2 separate regions of the Homo sapiens genome follow, and region 1 is linked to region 2. The links are contacts of gene promoters, found by promoter capture Hi-C in human tissues and cell types (Jung and others, 2019). All regions are on one chromosome and are shown on one strand. The core of a region is centred on a gene start or on the middle of the fragment in contact, and the rest is flanking DNA. Distances in the headings are between cores, read along the strand shown. Region 1 overlaps LOC124904487 (a long non-coding RNA gene). Region 2 holds the start of MYOG (myogenin).

Evidence for each region. Contacts are between HindIII fragments. The study calls those that stand out against the background at their distance.
Region 1: a contact is called between a fragment that was not itself captured here and the fragment with the promoter of MYOG in region 2, in 1 of the 25 tissues and cell types used here (thymus).

Annotation. Positions count from the first base shown.
Region 1 is chr1:203,422,842-203,427,351 of GRCh38, reverse strand. LOC124904487 (a long non-coding RNA gene) reads left to right here. Exons shown (of 2, transcript XR_007066805.1): 2 at 1-306. Among named protein-coding and RNA genes, the nearest start is that of BMNCR, 17 kb to the right of the region's middle. The HindIII fragment of the contact is 5,786 bases long and covers 1-4,510 here.
Region 2 is chr1:203,084,211-203,088,671 of GRCh38, reverse strand. It overlaps MYOG (myogenin), which reads left to right and starts at 2,660. Exons shown (of 3, transcript NM_002479.6): 1 at 2,660-3,181; 2 at 3,944-4,025. The coding sequence starts at 2,711. It overlaps MYOPARR (myogenin promoter associated myogenic regulatory antisense long non coding RNA), which reads right to left. Exons shown (of 3, transcript NR_160550.1): 2 at 4,099-4,300; 3 at 332-2,189. RefSeq lists an enhancer at 824-1,341. The HindIII fragment of the contact is 26,934 bases long and covers 1-4,461 here.

The sequences.
Region 1 (4,510 bases), core at 1,387-3,886, 340 kb before region 2:
ATCAACTAAACCTGATGCAAAAAACAGAAAAGGGAGAGATGTAGGGGATCACTCAGAGTGGTGGGAAAAACTATAGGGAAAGGACACAAACCTTCTGAAAGGTTGGAAGGGTCTGCAGAGCCCCTGGGGAGAATAGCTGGAAGCAGCTGTTCTATAACCCTGAGACAGAGGGCAAGGAGTAGATACAAGGGAGTGTGGGGGGAATTGATCTTAAACAATCTTGTTATGTTGACCAGGAACTGACCTTTGATCATCCCTGCATGTGAAGTTCCCTGAAAGGGGAACAATAAATGTTAATTACCTTCAGGTTGTGTTGGCTCCAGGTTTTCAGCATTGCACCTGCCCTGAATAAAAGCAAGCAGCTCCAGCTTCCCAGGGCTGCGCTCTGGCCACTTGCACCAGGCAGTCCTCTGGCTGCTCTTACATTGCATACCTATGTCTGAGTACTCATTTCATCTGTCAGCCGGGGTCTGCAGGACAGACCTGGCACATTGTAGCCCTAGCACCCCATGAATCGAAGGGATTGCACTTTTCCAGAAACCAAGAACTGATTGGATGGGGGCTGATCAAAGTGGTATTAGAACCTTACTCCCTGCCTCTTAAATAATGCTCTACCCCTCCTAGCCCCTAACTCCTTGGTCCTGGCCTTTAATAACATGTGAGAAACTGAAGAAGGTCCCCAAAAAGTAATGCGAAGGACACAGAGGTCAGAAGGGGACAGAAGAAGAAAGGGGAGGCTGAGGGGAGGCCAGAAGCCCCGTGACAGATGTGGAGCAAGACATTGACCTGTTGATCCCACCGCCTCAGAGGCCAGCAGGAAGAAATGAGCCGCACTGAGGAAAGTCCACACAGAAAGTGGTTCCCAAGGGAAGGTGAGGGATTCCATCTGGGGGAACAGAAATTAGAATCAGCAACCAAACATGAGTCCAGGTTCTGGGCTCAGACCCTCGTGGACTGCTATTGAGGCACAAATGACAAATCTAAACTGCTATGGAATGGCATGAATGTGGCGATTTGAAGTGTTCTGAAATCTAGGAAAGGGAAGTGGGCAAGCCCCATGGCAGGGCACTCAGAATCTCCAGGAGGCTCTTCTCAGAGAACAAACACCCCACATGAAAACCTATTTGAGAATTACCCACCTAAAATGATGCTGAAGTGTAACTGCCTGAGAATGTTAACAAAAAATGATTTAAACTGAAAAGGTTTTTCATTTTTAGGTGAAGAAACAGATTCAGAGAGGTAAAATGAATTGTCTAAGATCATAGTTAGTGGCAGAACTGGAACTGAAACCTAGGGATATATATTTGTGAAAAGTTTTTTAAAACAGCGTGGCTGAGAACCAACCAATCGCATCAGACTCTCCTGTGTGCCTTGGTAAAATGCAGATTCCTAGACTCCACAGAGCTAGGGAATCAGAGTCCTTGGGGATGAGCCTTGGAAATGTATTCTTTTTTCTTTCCTTACCAAGTTCCCAAGAGCTAGAAAAGGAAATGTATTCTTAATAAGCTCACAAGGTGAGGTGACTCATATGTACATTAAGCTTCAGAGCCAGCAGTTTAGATAGGTTTGCTGATGGTAGACAGATGGAGTCCAAGACCTCTGAAGTGCCTCCCAGTCAAGGAAGCTGGGAATCTATGATGTAGGTACAGCATAGGGTAGCTGCAGCCCCCTCCCCTCTCTTTGTATAGAGGTCATCTCAGGAACTTCCAGGAAGAGTCAAATAAAGAGCTGTCACACACCCTAGAGCTGGAATCTGCACCCTCCACACCAACCCCTTTGCACAGCCTGTCTGCTCTGCATGATCCTGCAGCTGGTTACTGCAGCCTGGAAGAGCTGAGACAGAGAAGACAGACGTGGGGAGGGAGAATAACAATAATAAACAGACCTTAGACAAGAGGCTGCTGCATGGATCTCATTCAGCTGTTTACTCAGGACAATAGGTTATCTTGCGGGGGTCTGTTTTGGCTTGAGTGTGCCCATCAGTCCAGGCCAGCAGGCTTCTGCCCTGTGCCTGTCATTGCCAGGCTGTCAGGAGATGTGTCATAGTTTGCTTTTCTCTGAATTCCAATCACTGTCTACTGTTGCAGCTGAACCTGACTTTTTCAGATGTTGCTCACTGTCTGCTGTTACTGGTCCCCCATCACCTGATCCACTGCACCACAGAGTATGAGTTTGGGCAGGAGGGCAAGTCCACAAACCCAGGCCATGCAAACTGCCCTGTCCATCCTTCCCACTAAGCTCCAACTGAACTAGATGACATCGTCTGCTCCAATTGGGCTGTTTCCAATTCCCCAAACACACCTGGCACCCTCCCATCCCACACTGAGATTTTGCTCTTGCTGTTTCCCCTGCCTGGAAGTCCTTCCCCACATCGTCCAGCATATTCTACTCATTCTTTAGGGCCATGGCAGACATTGCTTGTTGCATAACCTTCATCTCTTCTCCCCTTCTTCATTTACAGTCCATTGATTTTGTTTAAGGAAGGGAGATCAATATGCCATCCTAAAAATATTGCTTCCAGGCTCCCTCGTTGCTAGAAGTGATAATGTAACACAGTTCTAGCCAATGGGATTTATGTATTTACTTATTTTGGAGACAGGGTCTCGCTCTGTCACCCAGGCTGGAGTGCAGTGGCATGATCTCGGCTCACTGCAGCCTCAAACTTCTGGGCTCAAACAATCCTCCCACCTCAGCCTTCCAAGTAGCTGGGACTACAGGCACACGGCACCATGCCCAGCTATTTTTTAATATTTATTTTTATCTTTTAATTTCCTTAAAATAAAAAAGGAAGAGACAGCTGGCCTGTGTCTGGCATGTGTGTTTTGTTTTTCCCCTTCTTGCTCCCTGGAAAGTCTAAGCCTGGGGGTAGAGTAGCCAATTTATAACCAAGAGGATAAAGACCACATGTTAAGGATGCTGGCCTGGAAGACAGAAGGAGCCTAGGTCCTTCATGACATCTTGAGGTTTGCACCGTCCTATCTCCACACTTCTTATAACAAGAGACAAATAAACCTCTATTTGTTTAAACCTCGTAGTCAGGTTTCTGTTACATGCAGCCAAATGCAGTCCTAACCGATACAATGGCTTATCTAAATATATAAATTTATTTATTTATTTACTTATTTAAAGAGAGATGGGGGCTTGTTTTGTGGCCCAAGCTGGTCTTGAACTTCTGGGCTCAAGCAATCCTCCCACTTCTGCCTCCCAAAGTGCTGGGATTACAGGCATGAGCCACCTCACCCGACCTCTCCCTCCATTTCTAATCATCCTGGCTGGATAGGCTCCTTCCTCCCTCTGTGCTCAGTTTGCCCCTAATTCCTCTCCCAGGGCAGTTCTCTCTCTCTTTTTTCTTTTTTTTTTCTTGAGACGGAGTTTCGCTCTTGTTGCCCAGGCTGGAGTTCAATGGCATGATCTCGGCTCACCACAACCTCCGCCTCCCGGATTCAAGCGATTCTCCTGCCTCAGCCTCCCGAGTGGCTGGGATTACAGGCATGCGCCACCATGCCTGGCTAATTTTGTATTTTTAGTAGAGAAGGGGTTTCTCCATGTTGGTCAGCCTGGTCTCGATCTCCTGACCTCAGGTGATCCACCCACCTCAGCCTCCCATAGGTGGGATTACAGGCATGAGCCACCACGCGTGGCCAATTCTCTTTACCTACATGCTCATTGTATATTAGTCTCAGCAACTTCGATGTGAGCACCTTGAAGGAATGAGCCTTCCTCTTCCTGGTAACTCCTCACAGGAGCACCTGATCTTCGGAGATGCCTGGTAGAGATGATTGAAAAGAACTGATCAGCATTGGCCTCTTTCCCCCAAGATCTACCAGGGTCATAGCACTCTGAGGATTATTTTGTGATATTTCCCCCATGGCCTCTCCATCAACTGCCCATACTCCATAAGTTTGTCCCCTGTCCTCTGTCCAGATCTAGACTCCAGGGCAGTGAGGCACAAGGGAAAACTATCCTATCACCTCTTCTATTAATAGAAACAATTAGGAGAGCAGATGTAGCTTGGCCTCCTAAGGGTCCCTCCTTCTGCCCTCCTTAAGACTGTCTGAGGGGAAGGGCAAGTTCTGAGGCTTCTTTAGAACCCCTCCCCCCACCATAGACTCTTGGAGCAGACAGTGTCATCTGGCTCAGTCTCCAGCCTTCAGCCAGGAAAATTCTACAGCTTTCAGAGCAGACAGAGAAGACTCAGTATCTCTTCAACCATCAAGATGGGACAGACTGTAAGAGAGCCCTGGAGGTAAGATGTTGAGGCTGTTTCTAGGCTCGGTGGCAGGCTGCTTGGCATCATGAAGGGGTCAAGCAAGATGCTACTCTGGGATCTATGGTATGTCTCCTTGAAGGTATGTCCTCTATGTAGGACCAGGGCTGGAGGAAGTTCTACATGTTTGTCTTCCCAGTAATCTACAAGCTCCTTCAAGGAAAGGAATGTCTTATTCATATTTGTTTCTCCCACCTAACAGGGCACGTGGCACAAAAAAGATGCCAATAAATATTTGTGGGC
Region 2 (4,461 bases), core at 1,411-3,910:
CCCAACGTCCCCTTCCCCTGCTCCCCTCTCCTCATCTGAATCCTACCAGTTCTCCAAGAGCTGGCCCAGCATGCTCCCCAAGCCTTCTGCAGAGCACCAGTCTTCAGCAGTTTTGGCTTCCCAAAAATTCCCAAAACGCTTTTGAAGAAACTACTGGTTTGCAATTGATTAAAGCCCCCATGTTTGCTGTAGAATCAACATAGCTCTCCCTTGTCTTGTAATCCAGCTTTCACATGTCAACCCATGCTCACCAACTAGACAGTAAGGTCTGGAAACCACCATAGAGCAAGCCAGCTCTGCCTCCATTTTAGAGGAAGAAGACACATTATTTAGAGGTAAGTCACACTGGATCCTGGAATAACAAAAGATGCAAATATGGGGGTTCCTATAGTGGCTTCAACATGACTTCTTTTCTCAGGGCTCATAGGACTGGAGGGTAAACTGAGGCTTTTTTTTTCTTTTTTGTTTGGCAGGGGATGTGTTAGAAATAGAGACTCTTCTTCAGCCCAGCTGGTCAGGGGAAAGCAAAGTTTAGAACCCACACAGTACCTATGCTGCTACTTTTTTTTTTTTTTTTTTTTTTTTTTTTTGAGGCAGAGTCTCGCTGTGTCACCCAGACTGGAGTACAGTGGTGCGAACTCGGCTCACTGCAACCTCCTCCTCCTGAGTTCAAGTAATTCCCTGCCTCAGCCTCCCAAGTAGCTGGGATTACAGTGCCCACCACCATGCCTGGCTAATTTTTGTATTTTTAGTAGAGACAGGGTTTCACCATCTTGGCCAGGCTGGTCTTGAACTCCTGACCTCGTGATCCACCCGCCTTGGCCTCCCAAAGTGCTAGGACTACAGGCATGAGCCACCACGCCCGGCCTATGCTGCTACTTTCTATCATGCTGGTAAGGCCAAGAACAGAATTAAGACCTCACTGCTCTCCCTCAACATGCTTAGGGTTCTTTTGTTGTCCAGCTATGTTCCCTCCTTCCCTCCATTTCCTGTCCCAAAAGGACATCAGAATTCTCCTGGCTCCCTGCTGTGAATAATGAGAGGAAGGAACACTGGTTCTTCACATGCCTCGCAGATCTCATGTTCCCTGTGAAGTCTCCCATGAGTCCCCAGCAGGGTTCCCCTTCCTCTTATTGTCCTTGCCACTGGCTTGAACTTGTCAGTTTGATCTGTCGTAGGATAAGGAGCAGGACATTAGTCTATGGGGAGGAAAAAACTGGGAACAAAGGATAAAAGATAGAGGGAGCAGATTGCAGCCCAAAGCTACACGTCAATGGAACGGGCTGTCTCCTGACGTGAGCAGAAGCTGAACAGTAGCCGCCTCGGAGGAGATTTGGGCATCAGGGGCTAGGTAGAAAGAGGTGATCACCGTTGTCTATCAGATGGTAAGTTCGAGGGCAGGGATCCTGTCTGGGGTGTCCCTATAATCCCCAGCCCTAAGACTGAGCCTTGTTCACTGCTAGTGTCTAAGGTCTGCCCACTGCATTGGAAGGAATTTGTCCTCTCAGACCCTGAGGCACCTACTGAGAGGTGACCATGGCCTGAGAGGCCTGAAGATTAAATAGTCCCTGCTCTACCTGACATTTGAGACCTGCATGATACGTGTAAAATTGATGGCTCAGACAGTAAGAGGCAGAACAACCAAGCCCGGTGGCCAAGGAGAGAGGAGATTTAAACTGAGTTTGAAGGGCTCTGTTTTTTCTACTTTTTCACCCCCGTCCACATTAATGAGCCAGGAAAATTCTGGTGTTGGAAAAAGAGTTGAGGAGGTAACATAGAAGGACAGATCAATGGTCCGGAGTGAGACAGGGAGGAGACAGGGAGCTTAGGACATCTTGACCTTGCCGCTCTGGGGAAGGTGGCAACGTGTAGGCTGTAAATTCTAATCTCTGCTCTGACCACGGCTGCTGTATTAAAGAGGAAATTTCTCTTTACCCCTGCCAAGAAAACCAAAACCCAAATAATTTCTCTTGCCTCAATTTACCCCCCCAGATGAGACCTAAGAGAACATACAGCTCAAAGCTGCTTGGGAACCCCAAAAGTGGAATCTGTTAGCTGCTCTGAGTCTTGATCCTTCTTATCCCTGGATACTGAGTGCCCATGAATGCCCAGAATCTGAAGCAGTCCCATTCTTTCCGGAGGGAAGTCTTTAAAAGAGTCTCATCGACTGATGTAGTGTGGTTAAGGTGCTGTCAGGAAGCAAGGAGATGGATAAGTTGGCTCTTAAGGCCCCTTCCAGCCTAAGCCTACCCTTCCTTGTTCCCTCCTCCCCCTATACCCACCAGCTTCTTCGGGACTGCAAGGAGACAGCAGGCAGGCCGCCCAGCTAGGAGTAATTGAAAGGAGCAGATGAGAGGGGAATGTGTCCTCCCCCAACGCCCCTGCCCCACAGGGGCTGCTGAGAAATGAAAACTAATCAAATTACACCCGACGGCCTCCCGACCCGTGCACAGGAGCCCGCCTGGGCCAGGGGCAGGCTGGCAGGGTGGGGTGGGGGCCATGCGGGAGAAAGAAGGGGAATCACATCTAATCCACTGTAAACGCCTTGATGTGCAGCAACAGCTTAGAGGGGGCTCAGGTTTCTGTGGCGTTGGCTATATTTATCTCTGGTTCCATGCCAGCGGGGAGGGTTTAAATGGCACCCAGCAGTTGGCGTGAGGGGCTGCTGGAGCTTGGGGGCTGGTGGCAGGAACAAGCCTTTTCCGACCCCATGGAGCTGTATGAGACATCCCCCTACTTCTACCAGGAACCCCGCTTCTATGATGGGGAAAACTACCTGCCTGTCCACCTCCAGGGCTTCGAACCACCAGGCTACGAGCGGACGGAGCTCACCCTGAGCCCCGAGGCCCCAGGGCCCCTTGAGGACAAGGGGCTGGGGACCCCCGAGCACTGTCCAGGCCAGTGCCTGCCGTGGGCGTGTAAGGTGTGTAAGAGGAAGTCGGTGTCCGTGGACCGGCGGCGGGCGGCCACACTGAGGGAGAAGCGCAGGCTCAAGAAGGTGAATGAGGCCTTCGAGGCCCTGAAGAGAAGCACCCTGCTCAACCCCAACCAGCGGCTGCCCAAGGTGGAGATCCTGCGCAGTGCCATCCAGTACATCGAGCGCCTCCAGGCCCTGCTCAGCTCCCTCAACCAGGAGGAGCGTGACCTCCGCTACCGGGGCGGGGGCGGGCCCCAGCCAGGGGTAAGTGGCCATCCCATCCCCCTGCCCCAAGGGGACGGGGCCAGAGGGAGGCACCTGGACAGCCTCAAGACCCCAAGAGGGGCTCAGAGGGTTGGTGCAGGTGCCAGACAGGGTCGAGGGGCTGCAGGAGCCCTTCCCTGGTCAGAGCTGGGCTATCCAGCTGACCTCCTGTGTCCTGTGTTCTTTCCAGACAAGATAAAGGCAGTGGGGAGGAAGTGCAGAAGGGGTTGGGGTGGGGAACATAGGACTGAAGAAAGATCAGGAGCAAGGCCACAGTCAGCCCAGGTGAGGGTGAGGATTAATCCCAGCGCCTGAGTCAGAGCCTAAAAGGCCAGGCCAAGTTCACCAGAGAAGACTGCTTTGCCCCCATCCTGGGTGTGGCTGAGCAGAGAGAAAACCCACTCAGTCTCATTGGAACTCCAGCAGGCCTGCACAGAGCGACCTTCACTGGGCCACAAAATCTGTCTCCATCACCCTTATCGCCAGAGTCAGGAGAACCAGGGACCCCTTTAAGCTGGTGTCCTGTGAGAGCAGAACCACCACCCAGGATGGAAGCCAGGAAGGCCTGGAAGCAGGGCCTCTGGGGTGTGAGAGGAGCTAGTTACAAAGATTCTGGGGTTGGGGATGGCCTGGGCTGGAAGGCCACAGCCTGTGGCCCACCCTCCAACCCCACCACAGGTACTTCTGCCCACTGGGACTAGGCAGAGAGAGACATCAAAGAATGGCTGTGCCCCGACCTTGGGCCTTCGCCCTGTCTTGCAGGTGCCCAGCGAATGCAGCTCTCACAGCGCCTCCTGCAGTCCAGAGTGGGGCAGTGCACTGGAGTTCAGCGCCAACCCAGGGGGTAAGTAAGGCCTGACTGGTAACCTTGGCTCCAATCCCTCAGTCCCTCCCTGGGCCAGGTTCTCCCCTCTTACCTTATTCCTTGCTCCGGTCCTCTTCCCTTGGGTCTCTCTAGGGACCTGCTGACTCCAAGGCCCAAAGGGTGGGCTGGGAGGTTCTGTGTGCCCCTGCAGTCTTGACCAGCAAAGGAGTGATAGTAGCTCCTGCAGCTCCCCAGCTGATGCCTGGTGGTTGACCTTCTCCACAGAGAGGACAATGTCCCTGCCCCAGGGGTCCCTGTGAAGTGCTGAGTCAGTGCTGCAAAACTGGGCCGAGCAAAGGGCAGGTCCAGTCTCTGGGGAGCTCCATCCTGCTCCAACTTGAGTGGCTGCTTCCAAACCCTACCTACTAGGGGAGTTCAGAAAAGAGGCGCATACACACACACACACACACACACA